2 separate regions of the Homo sapiens genome follow, and region 2 is linked to region 1. Evidence: promoter capture Hi-C in 16 types of primary human blood cells and fetal thymus (Javierre and others, 2016). All regions are on one chromosome and are shown on one strand. The core of a region is centred on a gene start or on the middle of the fragment in contact, and the rest is flanking DNA. Distances in the headings are between cores, read along the strand shown.

Region 1 (7,449 bases), core at 1,725-4,224:
TGTTTTTTGACCAGCTCACTAATTGTGATTGAAAACACCAGCTCCCCAGCAATGCACACGCATTGGAGTTAGCAGCAGCAAGACAGGCCCTAATTGCTCCATTTACATAAAAGTAGAAACATACAACTTCTAAATATAAATCTCTGGCACATCGTTCCTTTTGCAATTACAGTAAAATAAGGTACCACAGTTTCCCTCCCGGCTCCTTCTCGCAGCAAGCTGCTCCACCGGGTTCGCTAGTGGCTGCTCCTCGAGGCGAGAACAGAGCCATGCAAATGCTCCAGCGTGGAGTTGGGTTTGTGAAGTCGCCAGTAAATCAGGCCGCCTCCACTAGGTGAATAACGCGGTGGCAGCGGGCCACTTTGCTAGTGCAGTCGCTGGAGGACCGCGCTCCGCACTCAGAAGGGGGCAGTTGGCTGGTGCGCGAGCGCTCCCGGCTCGCCTCTGTCCGCGGGGAGCCAGCCGGCCCCTCCGCAGGTCCCGCTCCCTGACATTTGCTGTGGTTTCACTCCCTGGCACTGAGGGCTGGGTTCAGAGATTCCCAGCTGCACTCACTGAACAGTGATTTTTTTCCCCTCCCTGAATTCTTTAGCTGCCAAAAGGGGGGAAAAAATCAAGAGCTGCTCTTAAAAGAAGTTGCCCTTGCTGGTGCTCAGGGTAAAAATAGAGGCTGCCGCTTAGACCGGCTTGGCCCTGGCTCCAGGCATCCTGCGAGCTGGGCTCGAGCAGCGGCCGCGTTCCGGCGTGATCCCTGGAAGCTGCCAGCAGGTGCTGCTCAAGGTACAGTAGCAGGGCCGAGAAGCCGGGACCCGAAGGGCCTGGGGTGCGGGGAAGCTCCGGGGGAGGGGGAAGTGAAAGAGAAACCAAACCAAGGAAGGAGAAGGAGATTCTGGTCAGGACTGGGCTGACCAGCTTGTGCCCCGGGCCCTTGAGTTCCGCAGGGAAAAGCTGATTCCCAGTCTAGAATATTCCACAGAAGCTATTTTAACCTGCCTGCTTCCTCCACCACCCCCACCTTGATTTGCACCGAGGGAGGAGGCATTGCCACTGTGGTGCAGGTGGTTGCAGAGGGGTTGCAGCACGGCTGGTAGGCTGGCCTGGCAGGTGGGCACTCGGTGGCATCAGATGGCCAGCGGAGTTTCAGAGTCACACTTGTGTTGTGGCTCCTCTGGTCAGAGAGCTGCAGATTCCTGTGACACCCATGTTTAAGAACAGCCACCAGGCTTCTCAGAAATAGTATCACTTATTATTATCTGACAGCTGCACTTGACCCCCACAGGTTCATATCATGGATCCCATTTTATAGATGGGAACACTGAGGCCTGAGTTTACACGGTGAGTGAGCAGAGGAACTGGGATCTGATCTGGGTTTGTTTTGTGCCCCCCACCCCCACCCCACGTCACCTACACACACACACACACACACACACACACACACACACACACACACACTACTTTGTGTGGAGGCGGAGGGGATGTTTTCAGGACACTAGGGTTCATGTGTGGGTCAGGGGTGAGTTTAGATGCCCTGAAGGTCATTGACTCCACTAATTCTCAGCAAAAAGGGTGGAGAAGTTTCTTTCTTATAAAGGGTTTGAGTTCACCCAGTGCTAAGCTGAGGGGCAGGTTTGGAGTTCACCATCATTAATCCTATTTCTGTCTTCGCCACTCAGATTCACTCTCTTCCTCTACAACCTAATGATTTTTTTCCTACTTCATTTCTGCATATGCAGTTCTTAGAATACTCCTTCCCCCCACCCCCATGCAGCTCAGCACCCACACTTTCTCTGTATCTAGCCAAGAGAGACCCTTTTACACAGAAAACTTCTGGTGTCCTAATGGAACCTGCTTAAGCCACACATCAGGAGGCCAGAGCCTCTATATTTTGCTTGTGGGCACAGTGAAAAGTTTATTTTATGCATGTTAAATCCTGCATACAAAACAACATATCTGGTCATATGGCTCTCATTAGCTCCCAATTTTGCACATTTTATCCAACTTGTCATGAGAACTGGGCTTATGCTTCAACTGTAGTCCTTCAAACAACCCTTCACCGTTCTTGTCAGAGGACCCCTTCCTCCTGTGTTATTTACCAGACTTGCCAACACCCCTCCCCCACAAAAAAAGCCTGACCAGCTTTACCCCTATTTCAAGGAGTGTTCACTTCTTTTCATTAATCTGCTGTTATATTTGTAACAATTTAGAAATTATAGGAGTTGAAGTTCTGGTAAAAAAGAATGATGCATGAGGGTTTTTGTTGTTGTTGTTGTTGTGTGTGTGTGTGTGTGTGTGTGTGTTTGGTTAGTTAGAATGAGATTCTAAAGACCTGGGAAGGATACTTATGAAGTTCATTTAAAGAGAATTACTATTTCCAAAGTTCTTGATTTATGAAGCAGGCATTCAATTTCAAGATGTAAAATAATAGTGTAAGTTGGTTGGGGTCGGGGGAGACCATCATCATATGATTATACAGATTTTCCCAATTTTTTTCCTCAATGAAATAGCTTATTTTAAAAATATAAAATTAGAATCCCTATAAAGAACACTACCAATTTTCTTTCCTGAAAGAAACAATAAAATACTTTGTAAATAGAAGCAACTTCATGAAGTAACAGATGTTTTATGTAAAGACATAAAACTGAACCTGAATATAACGAGACGTGTGTGCGAGTAGTAAAAGTTGAAAGTTGGACACACTCATTGAGACATATCTATTTGATTCCAATGTTTTTCTAAAAGGTAGAGTAATCCTAGCCAGAGGTTTCACTGGCTCAGTGCATCACCCAGTAGTGTCTCAGAAGCCAGGAAGGGCTTTCCATTAGATAATGAATTATGAAATGTCTCACACTGGAAAAACCAGTCATCCGCTGATGTCATGCTGATTCCAACCAATCCCAAACAAAGCCCCAGCCCTCCTCTGTTTCAGTGGTACCAATGTGTGGTGTACAAATAAGTAGTACAGTATAAAACTTCACAGTGCCAATACCATGAAGAGGAGCTCAGACAGCTCTTACCACATGATACAAGAGCCGGCTGGTGGAAGAGTGGGGACCAGAAAGGTAATGCTTTTTAACTCTTACTTCTGAGCTCTTTACACATTCAAAGATAGGAAAGCTAGGAGGAATTTTACAACTAATTGGCATTTCCAATGTGCATTGTGATGTGTACCTTTTTATATTATTCAGGCAGGTTAATACAGCTTTTAATAGTCCTAGAGCATGCAAATAGATTATATGTTTATACAAGCCACTCAGCACATATATACAAGTACATATGCCAAAGAGAAAGCTATTTTTAAGAGTTACATTCGCAAACAGTAAATTCAGGGAACACACACATACTCAGATGCAGAGAGAATCCAAATATTGATAAGTTGCACTTATCTAAATGCTGCTATTAGGACTCCTGAGTTGTTTAGAGCCATTAAACTTTTGGTTGTATTTCAGACTTTCTTGTAAAACTTAATTGAACTGCAAAACATTTTGGGTACTGTATATGTGACTCCAAATAGGTGGATGATGTTAAGTATTATAGCACAAAGATTTTTTATAAAACCATTGTAACACAAATGTCCCCTGCCTCCCCCATTCTCTTTCACCATCCCCGTAAAAAATATGAGGCTTTTTAGGCAATGTTGACAAAGTTTTAACAATAATGGTGGAGTAATTGATGTTTCTGGAGCTGAAACCCCAAAGGTGTTAGGTTACTTGTAACAGAAAAAGTCTTACAAATAGTTGTTTTGGAAAAGGGGACAGTATATATAATTCAGAAAGCATTGTTAACCTGTGCAAACTGTAATTATAACTTAGTGTCACAATTTTCTTGCCCTCTTCCCCTTGCACTCAGATCTTATCTTGTAGTAATGATATTTATTAACTCTTTCCACCTAAACTGCATTGCTTGACTGTAATGCTATGAACACACTAGGTGTCAGATATAAGCTGAGTGTATCTTCAGAAACCAAGAGGGCTTATGTGTGGGAAAGAAACCGAGAGGGAAGGAACGCTTTAACAGATGGACCCCTTAAAGATTCTTCTGCAAGATAAAAGCAATAAGACAGAAAATGAAAAAGAGGGGAGGGGGAAGAATTTTTTTTAAGCCTTAGAAAGGCATTGTTAAAAAATTCACATTTTTCTTTTTCTGTGCACACTAAAATCCATGATGATTTCATCTGCACTGTTCCTTTGAGGGAAAAAGAAGCAGTCAAGGAGGCTGTCTATGAATGCACTGGTCGGGACAGGCTTGGGGCAAGCTGAAAAAACTACCACATGACAGAGAAAAATAATTTGCCAATATATTTTAGAGAGTCTTTTCCCATAGGACCAGTTATTCAAGTCATACGAGTGCACTCTTTTTATAAAAGGATGTGGGAAAGGCCAAGAGAATTTTGCATTTTATCTGTGAAGTCCGGCGAGTGGTGGTAGGCTGTAATGTGTGAGAGTGAGTGGGTCCCCGGCAGAAGGGGGCAGCTGAACGCGACGGGGAGAAAGCGCTTCTGGAACTTGGGCTTGTGACAGGCTGCCTGCCCTCTGGTCCTTCAGTGCCCTGCTGCATTTCACAGTTGGGAAGAGTGGAGTGTATTATATGACCCCAAACAAAAGTTCCATTGCGCTCTCCTCAGATTGCCTGCCAGTGTTGATGACCTGAACATTTAAATATGAATGAATTGGGGGAAAGGACCATCTCCCCTGGATCCCATCAGGCCAGAACAATCCTCTGTTACCCCTGAGTCCCTCTTCCCTGACCTCCACTACCTGTCCACTGGACCTCCCTGCACCCTCTGCCCCACCACGTGGCCAGGTGGGCGTTCTACCACCTAGGGCTGTGGCTTGGCTGGGTGGAGGGGCGGTGGGAACACTTTTTCAATCAATTCATCCCTATTGATTGAGACACTGTGTTTGTTTGGGGTTTCTTTTCTCCCCTCCAAAAAAGGAAGAAGGTGAAACCAGGAGACTGGGCAGAGAAAGAAAAAAAAATAGTGAACAAAATTAGGATAATTTATTTTAGAAGAGAAAGTAGAACCCCCGAAAATGGTGATATTTGAAGAGAGGTGTCTGTGAGGAAGCTAAGAGCAGAAGGAGAGCAGCCTGTCAGAAAACGGGCTGTCCCTCCCTCCCTAATCACAGCCCTACTCACAGCAAACTCCCTCCCTCTCCATTCACTCACTTACTTAGGGCCAATCCTTTCTCTCTCTCTCTCTCTCTCTCTCTCTCTCTCTCTCTTCCTTTCCCTCTCTCCCTCTCCCCCTCCCTTCCCTCCCTCTCTCCCTCTCTCTCCCCCTTCTTTCCCTCTCTCTTCTCTCCCCCTCTCTCCTCTCTCTCTGTCTCTGTCTCCCTCCCATCCTCTCTCTCTGTCTCTGTCTGTCTCCCCGCCACCCTGTCTCTCCCTCCCTCCCTGTCTCCCTCCCTCCCTCCCTCCTTCCTTCTCTCTTACTCGGAGACAGTCAGAACTCTCCTCCCTGACAGCCACAAACCTACAGCACTGACTGCATTCAGAGAGGAACCTGCAAACAAAACTTCACAGAAAACTTTTTGTTCTTGTTCCAGAGAATTTGCTGAAGAGGAGAAGGAAAAAAAAAACACCAAAAAAAAAAATAAAAAAATCCACACACACAAAAAAACCTGCGCGTGAGGGGGGAGGAAAAGCAGGGCCTTTTAAAAAGGCAATCACAACAACTTTTGCTGCCAGGATGCCCTTGCTTTGGCTGAGAGGATTTCTGTTGGCAAGTTGCTGGATTATAGTGAGGAGTTCCCCCACCCCAGGATCCGAGGGGCACAGCGCGGCCCCCGACTGTCCGTCCTGTGCGCTGGCCGCCCTCCCAAAGGATGTACCCAACTCTCAGCCAGAGATGGTGGAGGCCGTCAAGAAGCACATTTTAAACATGCTGCACTTGAAGAAGAGACCCGATGTCACCCAGCCGGTACCCAAGGCGGCGCTTCTGAACGCGATCAGAAAGCTTCATGTGGGCAAAGTCGGGGAGAACGGGTATGTGGAGATAGAGGATGACATTGGAAGGAGGGCAGAAATGAATGAACTTATGGAGCAGACCTCGGAGATCATCACGTTTGCCGAGTCAGGTTGGTGCTGGCATTGGCAGGGGGTGGGGAGGGGTGGGGGGTGGGAGGGTAAAATATATTTCTTTGACAGTCCCAGGAGGAACTTCTTTTCCCTTCAGCTGGAAACTGCCTGGGAAGGTTATTAGTTATTAGGTGATGGTAGCGGACTAGCCGACGGAGGGCAGGCAGGGGAGGGGGAGAGGACTTTACAGAAAAGGAATTCTCGGTCGAGCTCTGCCTGGAGATGACTGGCTTACACTTACTAAACCCAGCGGGTCACACAGAGAGGAAGCTCGGGGCCAATGTTGAGCTGGAAGGCAGACTGTGAGGGGCTGCCTTGCCCTGCCTGTGAAACCAGATCTGAGCAGCCGGAGGAAAGCCGCGGCATTTTCGGGTGCTAGGGGAGCAGAGGAGGCTTCCGGACCCCATCCAAGTTTTTATTGAGGGTAGAGGGGTGAATGTACCAGGATTGGAGTGGAATGGCACAGATGAAGTCACTCTCTTAAAACAAACCTTCCCCTTTAAAAGTCCAATCTGGGGCCACATTGGAGAAGCAGGGCATATTTATGAGTGACAGTCATTTTTACCTTTAGAAAATGTCTATAAGTGCACAGGCACCACATTCAAGACAGGGAAGAGCTACTTTGGGGGACAGTTGTCATTGAACCAGCAGTTACTTTTGGGACACTGACTTTTGCTCTCTGAAAGAAAAAAAAATAAATAAAACAACCAGTTTTGTTCTTTCTAAAGTTACTAAGAGCTCTCTGCCAAGGAACGCAACCTTGACAAAGTACTCTCAGATACTACGCTGAACTCACTCAATCCTTAAGAGGAAGAACTTTAATAAATAGATTCTAATCGTTGGCCCAGGACCACACTAACCTGTTGCTGAATAGCAATACCTGTCAAAAGTATGGGCCCATGGACTTGGAGCCAGGCTATTTTTATAGTTAAGTGACACAGATCCTTTGCATGCCTGCAAGCCCATGCACGTCAGGCACACAGATGTGTTAATACCGTGTTACTTTCATGGTAATGCCAGGCTAAAGAATTGCATCCTTTGCCAACTCCATTTGAAAGGAATGCCATTGTTTTGTTTGGTAGAGCATATGGCCAGTAAAGTATGTGCAGGGACTCCCAGCATTTTTGTTTAAAAGTTTGCCGCAGCAGTATAAACAATTAAGGCAACACTCAGAATTTCCAATCTGAAAACCTGTTGACTCAGATGTTCTGTTTTCAAGAAAACCATGAAAGACCAGGGCATCTTTCCGGGGGTGCAGATAGCCTGCTGGCTGTGTGGCTTCCCCTTGCAGGAGAAGCCCTGGTGTCCTACAAGCTTCCCAGTTTGGCTCTCTCACCAGAAGCCTCTCTCACTTAGGGAAGATCCTACTTT
Region 2 (7,074 bases), core at 2,383-4,882, 650 kb after region 1:
TTGGTTTCATCATCTGTGAATGGGGATTATGAAAACTATCCACATGAAGCCCCCAAAAGGGTGCATGGCACCCAGTCACACTGTGGACATTTGCTCCACAGACTCCCCTCAGCATCCCTGGCACCGCAGAGGGACACACAGGCCACGGATGCAGGGGGAGTGTGGTGCCAGCTCTGTGGCTACGCCCACTTCCCAGGTGGTCTCCTCTCTTTACCCTGGCTGTGTTTTACTTCAGGAGAATCTGACCTGGACCCGCCCAGGGCAGAAGCAAGCGTCCAAGCTGCTCTGATGGCTGACCATGTGATTAGAAATGGATTCCTCTGTGAGCTGTACGAATCATTTATTGATAGCAAGAGTAGGTAAGGAATTTCCCATGCTTGACACACAGCTACAGCCTGGCACTCAAATGCAAGCCCAGTGCACGTGAAGGCAATCCACACCCCTGTTGCCATTGTCAGTCATGCCTCAAAATGCCCTGAAGTTTAGAATAATGTACGTGTTAGATGTGCTGAGTCCAGCTGCTAGCACACGGCTGACCCTAGCCTGCGGGCATACTGCCCAAGCCATTTCCTGCATGTGGCATGGAATTGGAAGTGAGGGAACATGGGTGGACAGAGGAAGGCTTTATCATGTTTTCTAATTGATGAGATATTTTTCAATAAAAGTTTTTGCTAACAATATCGCCTTGTGTTCCAGGGACAAAGCACTTATATTACACTAATCTTTAGGCAGGTGCCATTGTCTGTGTGATTTATTTACCTATAAGTCCTTTTTGAAAACCTCGAACTGAGGTACCATCTTCAATACTTCCTCTGTGAAAATGCAAATACTCAAGGCATTGTTGAAAGATATACTATGCCCCATCTATTGTTCTTACCTTCCCAAGGATGATTTCTGAGAGCAGGCTTGACTGGGAAGAAGGGTGCCACAAACACACTAGTCTCTGGAGGTGATGGGATGGTGAGGATGAAGAACATCATTGAGGAGGGAGGTGAGGAAGGGCATTGAGAACCTTGCTCTCATCCTGAGGGCTGGCCCAGGCTGCCCAGTCGGGGCTTGGGCATAGGTGCTGCTCCCTCTCCCCCTGTACTCCCGCTCCGATGGCTCCATTCCTTTCATCTCTGTCCCTTTACATGTATTTGTATGTGTTCGGAACTCCTTTGAATTTTCCTCCTCATGGTTGAAGACACATTTTCTCAGTTCCTTGATGATGGCCGAGGCTTGCGCATTTTGGTATCTCTCTGGGCTAGAGTAAAGGGAAGCAGAATAGAAATTCTCCTGACAATTTAGTCATGTCTGTGTCAGAGGAAAAATGGGGAATAGTTGTGAGAGTTTCAACACATCGCTGATGATACATGGGGTGTTAGAGGAATCCCACACTTACTATTTTCTCTGAAGTGTATTGAGTCTTTTCCAAGTGTACCTGTGTAAGCAATCACCTGATGTCCTAACCTTCTCCTGCCACACCTGAAGCTGGGAACCGGGAGTGAGGTTCCAGTGAGAATGCTGACCTTCAACCAAGGGTGAATAATGCCAGTGAGTTGTCTCAGAAAAGCCATTGCCATAGGTGCTTTTCTCAGATACCCGAATTGAACTTTCTCATGTCCCATCAGCACCTTGATACCAGCACAATCAGGGGCTTTTAAATATACCTGGTGGACAGATAACTTATTCCCTTTTTCAAACTAGGATACTCTCGGCTACCCACTGTAAACTAAATACTCCTCTTCTTGGAAATTCAGAATGGGTCTGTGTGATATCAAACACCTATGCTGGGAAAAACAGGAGCAAACAAAGCCATAAGGGACTGCCTTTGAAATGGAGCCTGGGAACCACTCAGCCACACAGCAGTATTTGTTTGCTTTCCTTGTTTCCTCAGAGCTGTGCTCACCTGGAGGCAACAACCTGCACTTTGTCATTTGCTGAGATGAGGAGGGACAAAGGAAGGGAGGCACTTTATCTGGCTTGTCAGCATTCCCAATGGGAGAGGGTTTAAAGAGTTCATATCTTAAGTAACCCTCAACCTGCTGTTTCTTTCACTTGGGGATATGCCAAGGGCTGTGGCTGACTCAGCTTGGGCCCAATTCTGCAGTCATTACCTAAGCCCAAAGTTCCTGATTCCTTGGTTCCTCCAGTGGGGAGTTTTGCCACATAGAGAGGGTAGGGACGGCACCTTGGCTGGGACTAGCACTGCATTAGTTATGTTTGAGGCTGTTATTTTCCTCTGAACTCTAATTGTTGGTATCAAAAGGATTAAGGGGAAAAAGCAGCTCTCTTTTCCAGGAGCAGCCCAGTTGGCAACATAGTAATCCCTCCTTGCTCCAGCAGGAGAGTAGGGGAGGGGGCAAGAGCCAAATCATTAGACTCTTTTGGGTCACAAGGAATAGACATAGGCTGTCCACCTTATTTGAGGGCTGCTGCTTGAAAGGAGACAAAATGAAGGGATCATTCTTTACTTGGACTTAAATGCTATCTACGGCAAAACCCAGACCTTGCTGATCGAAACGCCTCATTTTCCCCAGGTCAAGAGCCTGTGATTTTCTCTTCCCCAGGGCCCTGCCATATTGGTGCTGTGCCTCCTCCCTGTCTCTGTGATCAAGTAATCTAGTGACTGCGTATTTTGGGTTCAAACTCCACAAGGAAGGGTTTCCTGGTTAAGTTAATCCCTATCAGTGCCCTGTTGATGAGAGCTTTCCCCCAATCTGCCCATTGGCTGACCTCTATCCAGAGGACTGTCTTTGGCCCCGATCCCCACCCTTGGTCCACAGGTGAGACCAGCTCACGGGATCCCATGGTGTGACCCATTTTGATTTGTGCCCGAGGGACTGCCGTGGCTTATGGCCTCAGATGGGGACAGTGGATGTGGCAGCACTCAGAGTATCATGTTTTGCCCAGTTCTGGAGAGGCAGGGATGGCAGTGGGATCTGCTAAATTCTCTAAATAATTTGAGGTAAAAGTTTAGCTTTTCCTCCTCTATCTTAGCATTACTCAAAAGCACCATGAGGACAATGTTTCTAATTCCTGTAAAGGACCCTGAGCAGCTCTGGCACATGGAGGACTCACCAAAGAGCTAAGCTCTAGCACACCTGGGTGCCAGCACCTCAAGAGTGAATTTGGGTCCTGTTAAGTGTGAGAGGTGGTGACAGAGGTGACACTGACAGATTGAGCAAGAGAGGAAGGGTCTTGGTGGTTGAAGCTTAAAGAGAACTGACTGTGAGATCACTTGGAAACCCCCTGATGACCCTAAAACCTAAATGTGGGACCTTTGGGAAAGGGCTGGAGCCCTAAACTGACAGGCACAAGAGAAACCACTAAAGCACGTGCTATGATAAGGATAAGAACAAGAAAAAATCATCAGGAAAGGAATAGAAAAAGAAAAGTAAATTAAGGGAGAACTTCAGCTTTGTAATGTGGAGAAATCAGCAGCCAATTCTGAGATTCCTTTCACTCAGGATTTTAGAAAGATATCCAAAATAAAGCCCAACCCAAGAACAATAATTGTTATTCCCAGAGCAGTGAGAGAGTATATATATATAGACATACATATACATACATACATATATACCACACCAGGAGTCAACAAAAGTAACTGTATTAGTCTGTTCTCATGCTGCTATGAAGAAATACCCGATACTGGGTAATTTATAAAGGAAAGAGGTTTAATTGACTCACAGTTCCACAGGGCTGGGGAGGCCTCAGGAAACTTACAATCATGGCAGAAGGGAAAGCAAACAGGTCCTTCTTCACATGGCAGCAGGAAAGACAAGTGCAGGGTAAGTAGTTGGGGGAAGCCCCCTATAAAACCATCAGATCTCATGAGAACTCACTCACTATCATCAGAAAATAAGTATGGGGGTAACTGCCCCCATGATTCAATTACCTCCCACTGGCTTCCTCCCCCAACATGTGGGGATTATGGGAACTACAATCCAAGATGAGATTTGTGTGGGGACATAGCTAAACCACATTAGTGACATTTTAAGGGAAATGCCATCAAATGATGGTTTGAGATGAAAATGATGAGCTTTGGAGCTGAAATGGGCAGAAAAATTCAGGTTGTAAGCTTTATCTTGTGGAGCAAACCAAGTTGCCAGCCCAGCTGAAACAATAATCTATTATATGAGCTTCTGACCACACTAGATATCAACATCTTGGTTATAATAGTTCATTCAACCCACCAGGTGAATACGTCTACCTGTAAACATACCTTGTAAGTGTTCCTTAACAGGAGACCTTAGGAAGGTAAAAGAAGAGGATTTGTTAAAAATGGATGGAGAATGATATTTTAAGATACAAGTCAATACAAATTAATACATACCATAAATCAGCAATTTTTTTAAAAGTGGCTTTAATATAAATTTGCAGTTCTTCCACGTTTAGGAGTTGTTGGGAACTCATAGACTGGGAGTAAGCTAGTGTTGTGATATCCGTCAAGTTAAGCTCATATTCCTCCAGCTCTACTGGTGTTCTGAACACCAGTAGATCTACCCCATGACCTCATTTTCTTATAGCAGGGCTTTCCCTCATCTCTCCTGCTGATAAAGTGTCTCAAAGTTAATTTTAAGATCGGTCTTTATCAGGAATTGCTAATGAGGCTGTGCTTCCCGCCAGTCCCATCTGGAGATACTGATTGCCTGTTCTGCCTGGGTCCCTGGGCATTCTCTCCCATTTCCTCCCGAGTTCTTCCTCTTTTTGTTGGGTTCCAGGTTACCTCTGATATTCCTGATTTGTGTTCTCTGCCTGCTGTGGTTATGGAAAGACCTAATTCTGCCTCTTGGGTTAGGTCAGAATATCCCTCAATATTAAGCAGAAATATAAATTCCATGCCCTGCTCCATGCAATGCTGGTAGGAGTCCCCTCGATAACTGCAACTTAGGAGCGACTCCTGGTTAGCCATATTATGCCTCCTGTGACAAAGGCTTTGGTTACTAGAGCTGCAAAGAGGCTCCAAGCGCTTCTGCATACCCCCAACACCAATATATTTTGTAGTTTCTGAAAAGTACCAAGCCTCCTATCACAAGAACTGCTGTGACCTACACCACCCCTCCAAGCACGATCATCCCACCACTATTATTTTATACTTGTATATTGCTTTGTAGCTATCAAGGTGTTCCCATAATCTTTGCCATGTCTGATATGCACTAACTCCTATGACCTAGTCACAGTACCTGTTGTTATTTTGACTTTTTAAAAATGAGGATTCCAAAACTTAGGCTATGTGCCTCAAGGTCAAGGCTTGGCCCTTGGCCCAAGGTTACATGGCTAGTAAGTGGCAGAGCCAGGTTAAGCCAGATGCTCAAGGCATTCACTATGCTCAGGGCCCCTCTTCAGCTTAACCTCTCCCCCATCATTTGTCCAACTCCACAGGGAGCTGCCCTCTGAGAGCTTCGAAAGATGAAGTCTGGAAAGGATCTGACAAACTCATGAGTCTCAACATGTCACCCCTCTCAAGGACATTGCATTTTGATGAGCTTTGTTCAGTTATGTAACATGAAGGAACGCTCTCCTAAATATAAAATTGCAGACATTGGTGAGAAGTTAGTTGAGGAGGTATTGGTGGAAAATGGGAACTTTCTGACACCTCTCAAATCACATCCTGTCCAGGATCCTCATCAGATGGACTCCCTATTCCTCCTGAGGCCGACCCACTTTGGAGGTGTTGATTTATGCGTACGCTAGGAGAGTAAATCCAGGCAGAGGGGCTGCATTGCCGTTCATTGGTAGCAGGGTCTGTGTTGTGTTTCGATCTCACGCTTACTTATCAAACATGCACGGGCTTTTCTCATGCATTTTTTTAGTCCAGTTTTACTTTATTCCCTGTCACATCTGGTGGTACCAGGTCTCTAACCATAAAAAGAGGCAGCCCAGCAATCCAAACCTTGAACCCGCAGCAACTGTGGCAAACAGCAAGGAAGGGTTAACCGGTTTTGCACGAAGCAAGCCTGGCTCACCCCTGCGAATCTCTTTTTCACATTTGCTGCTTATTCATAACTCAAGCCCATCTGCTGCGCAAGTAATGATCAGCGGCTCCTGTTTCAGATGTCAACCGCCCCAGCTGTTTCTCTCTCTCTGTAAACACGAAGCGGGGAGCAATTACCACAAAATTAATATCCAGGCTTGATTATTTCTATGCCATGAAATGAAGACTGATGAGCTCTCTTCCACGCCCACCACCACCTCAGCCTCACACAATGCACACCTATGCAGCACAGCCCAGGCTAAAACCTCCCAAGAAGTCCCAGGTCGGTGAAGCTTGGAGGCTATGCTATGACCCAGGCCACCTGGAAATGCCAAAGTGAGCCTCATGTGTGTGGGAAAGCTGACAAAAAACTTAATTCCTGCTAGGCTTTGAGAGTGAAGTCCACACTGAAATTGAGCAATGAGGCTTGGAGACACTCCATTTAAGGTCAGGCTGACTCTTAGATAGGTTTTGATAGAGAGTCCTCATAACTCCTTCCATCAGCATTCTTTGATTTAAGGTAAATGTCAGACACAAGTCATTGTGGACAGCATGTCTCCCTCTCTGTTTTTTTCTCTACCATCCTGAAGCGGCAGGAATTGGAATGATCGGCCTCATCTCAAAAACTTCCTTCCATTATTGAACAAGCCTGTATGAAACATCAGCACATCTTCCTTCAGTCACAAGCATGCACTGAAGCCCCTGGTATGAGGCGCTAGCAAATGCAAGGCTCCACACAGAACATTTCCTGCCCTCCCCAGACTTCATGCTGGGGTAAGCATTTAAAAAAAAAAAGAGGATGAGGAAAACTCAGTCTGCCTGGCTTCAGCTCTTGGCTCTGCTACTTGCCATGTGCATGGTCTTGAGGAAGTTCCATGACCTGTCTGTGCCTCAGCTTCCTCAAGGATAAAATGAGGCTATACGGTTGTGGAGAGGACTGAAAGAGCTAATCGGTATGAAGTGTTGACTGCAGGCCCTGAACACATAAGTGAAATACAGGCGCTGTTGGTGTGCTGCCCCACTACCTTGAAGAATTTCCATGTAATAATATCTGGACAAACCATTGGGCGGCTTCACAGAGGAAACACACGTCAGCCAAGTCTCGATCAATGAAC

The links. The method cuts DNA at HindIII sites, captures the fragments that hold promoters and counts their contacts. A CHiCAGO score of 5 or more calls a contact.
Region 2: a contact is called between a fragment that was not itself captured here and the fragment with the promoter of INHBA in region 1, in 1 of 17 cell types (neutrophils). The highest score is 6.4, in neutrophils.

What each region holds. Positions count from the first base shown.
Region 1 is chr7:41,698,615-41,706,063 of GRCh38, reverse strand. INHBA (inhibin subunit beta A) reads left to right here and starts at 2,974. Exons shown (of 3, transcript NM_002192.4): 1 at 2,974-3,059; 2 at 5,547-6,077. The coding sequence starts at 5,690. All of the region lies in intron 1 of INHBA-AS1 (INHBA antisense RNA 1), which reads right to left. RefSeq lists an enhancer at 844-933. The HindIII fragment of the contact is 6,998 bases long and covers 1-5,958 here.
Region 2 is chr7:41,054,422-41,061,495 of GRCh38, reverse strand. No RefSeq gene overlaps it. Among named protein-coding and RNA genes, the nearest start is that of LINC01449, 44 kb to the left of the region's middle. RefSeq lists enhancers at 1,486-2,337, 6,911-7,074. The HindIII fragment of the contact is 867 bases long and covers 3,199-4,065 here.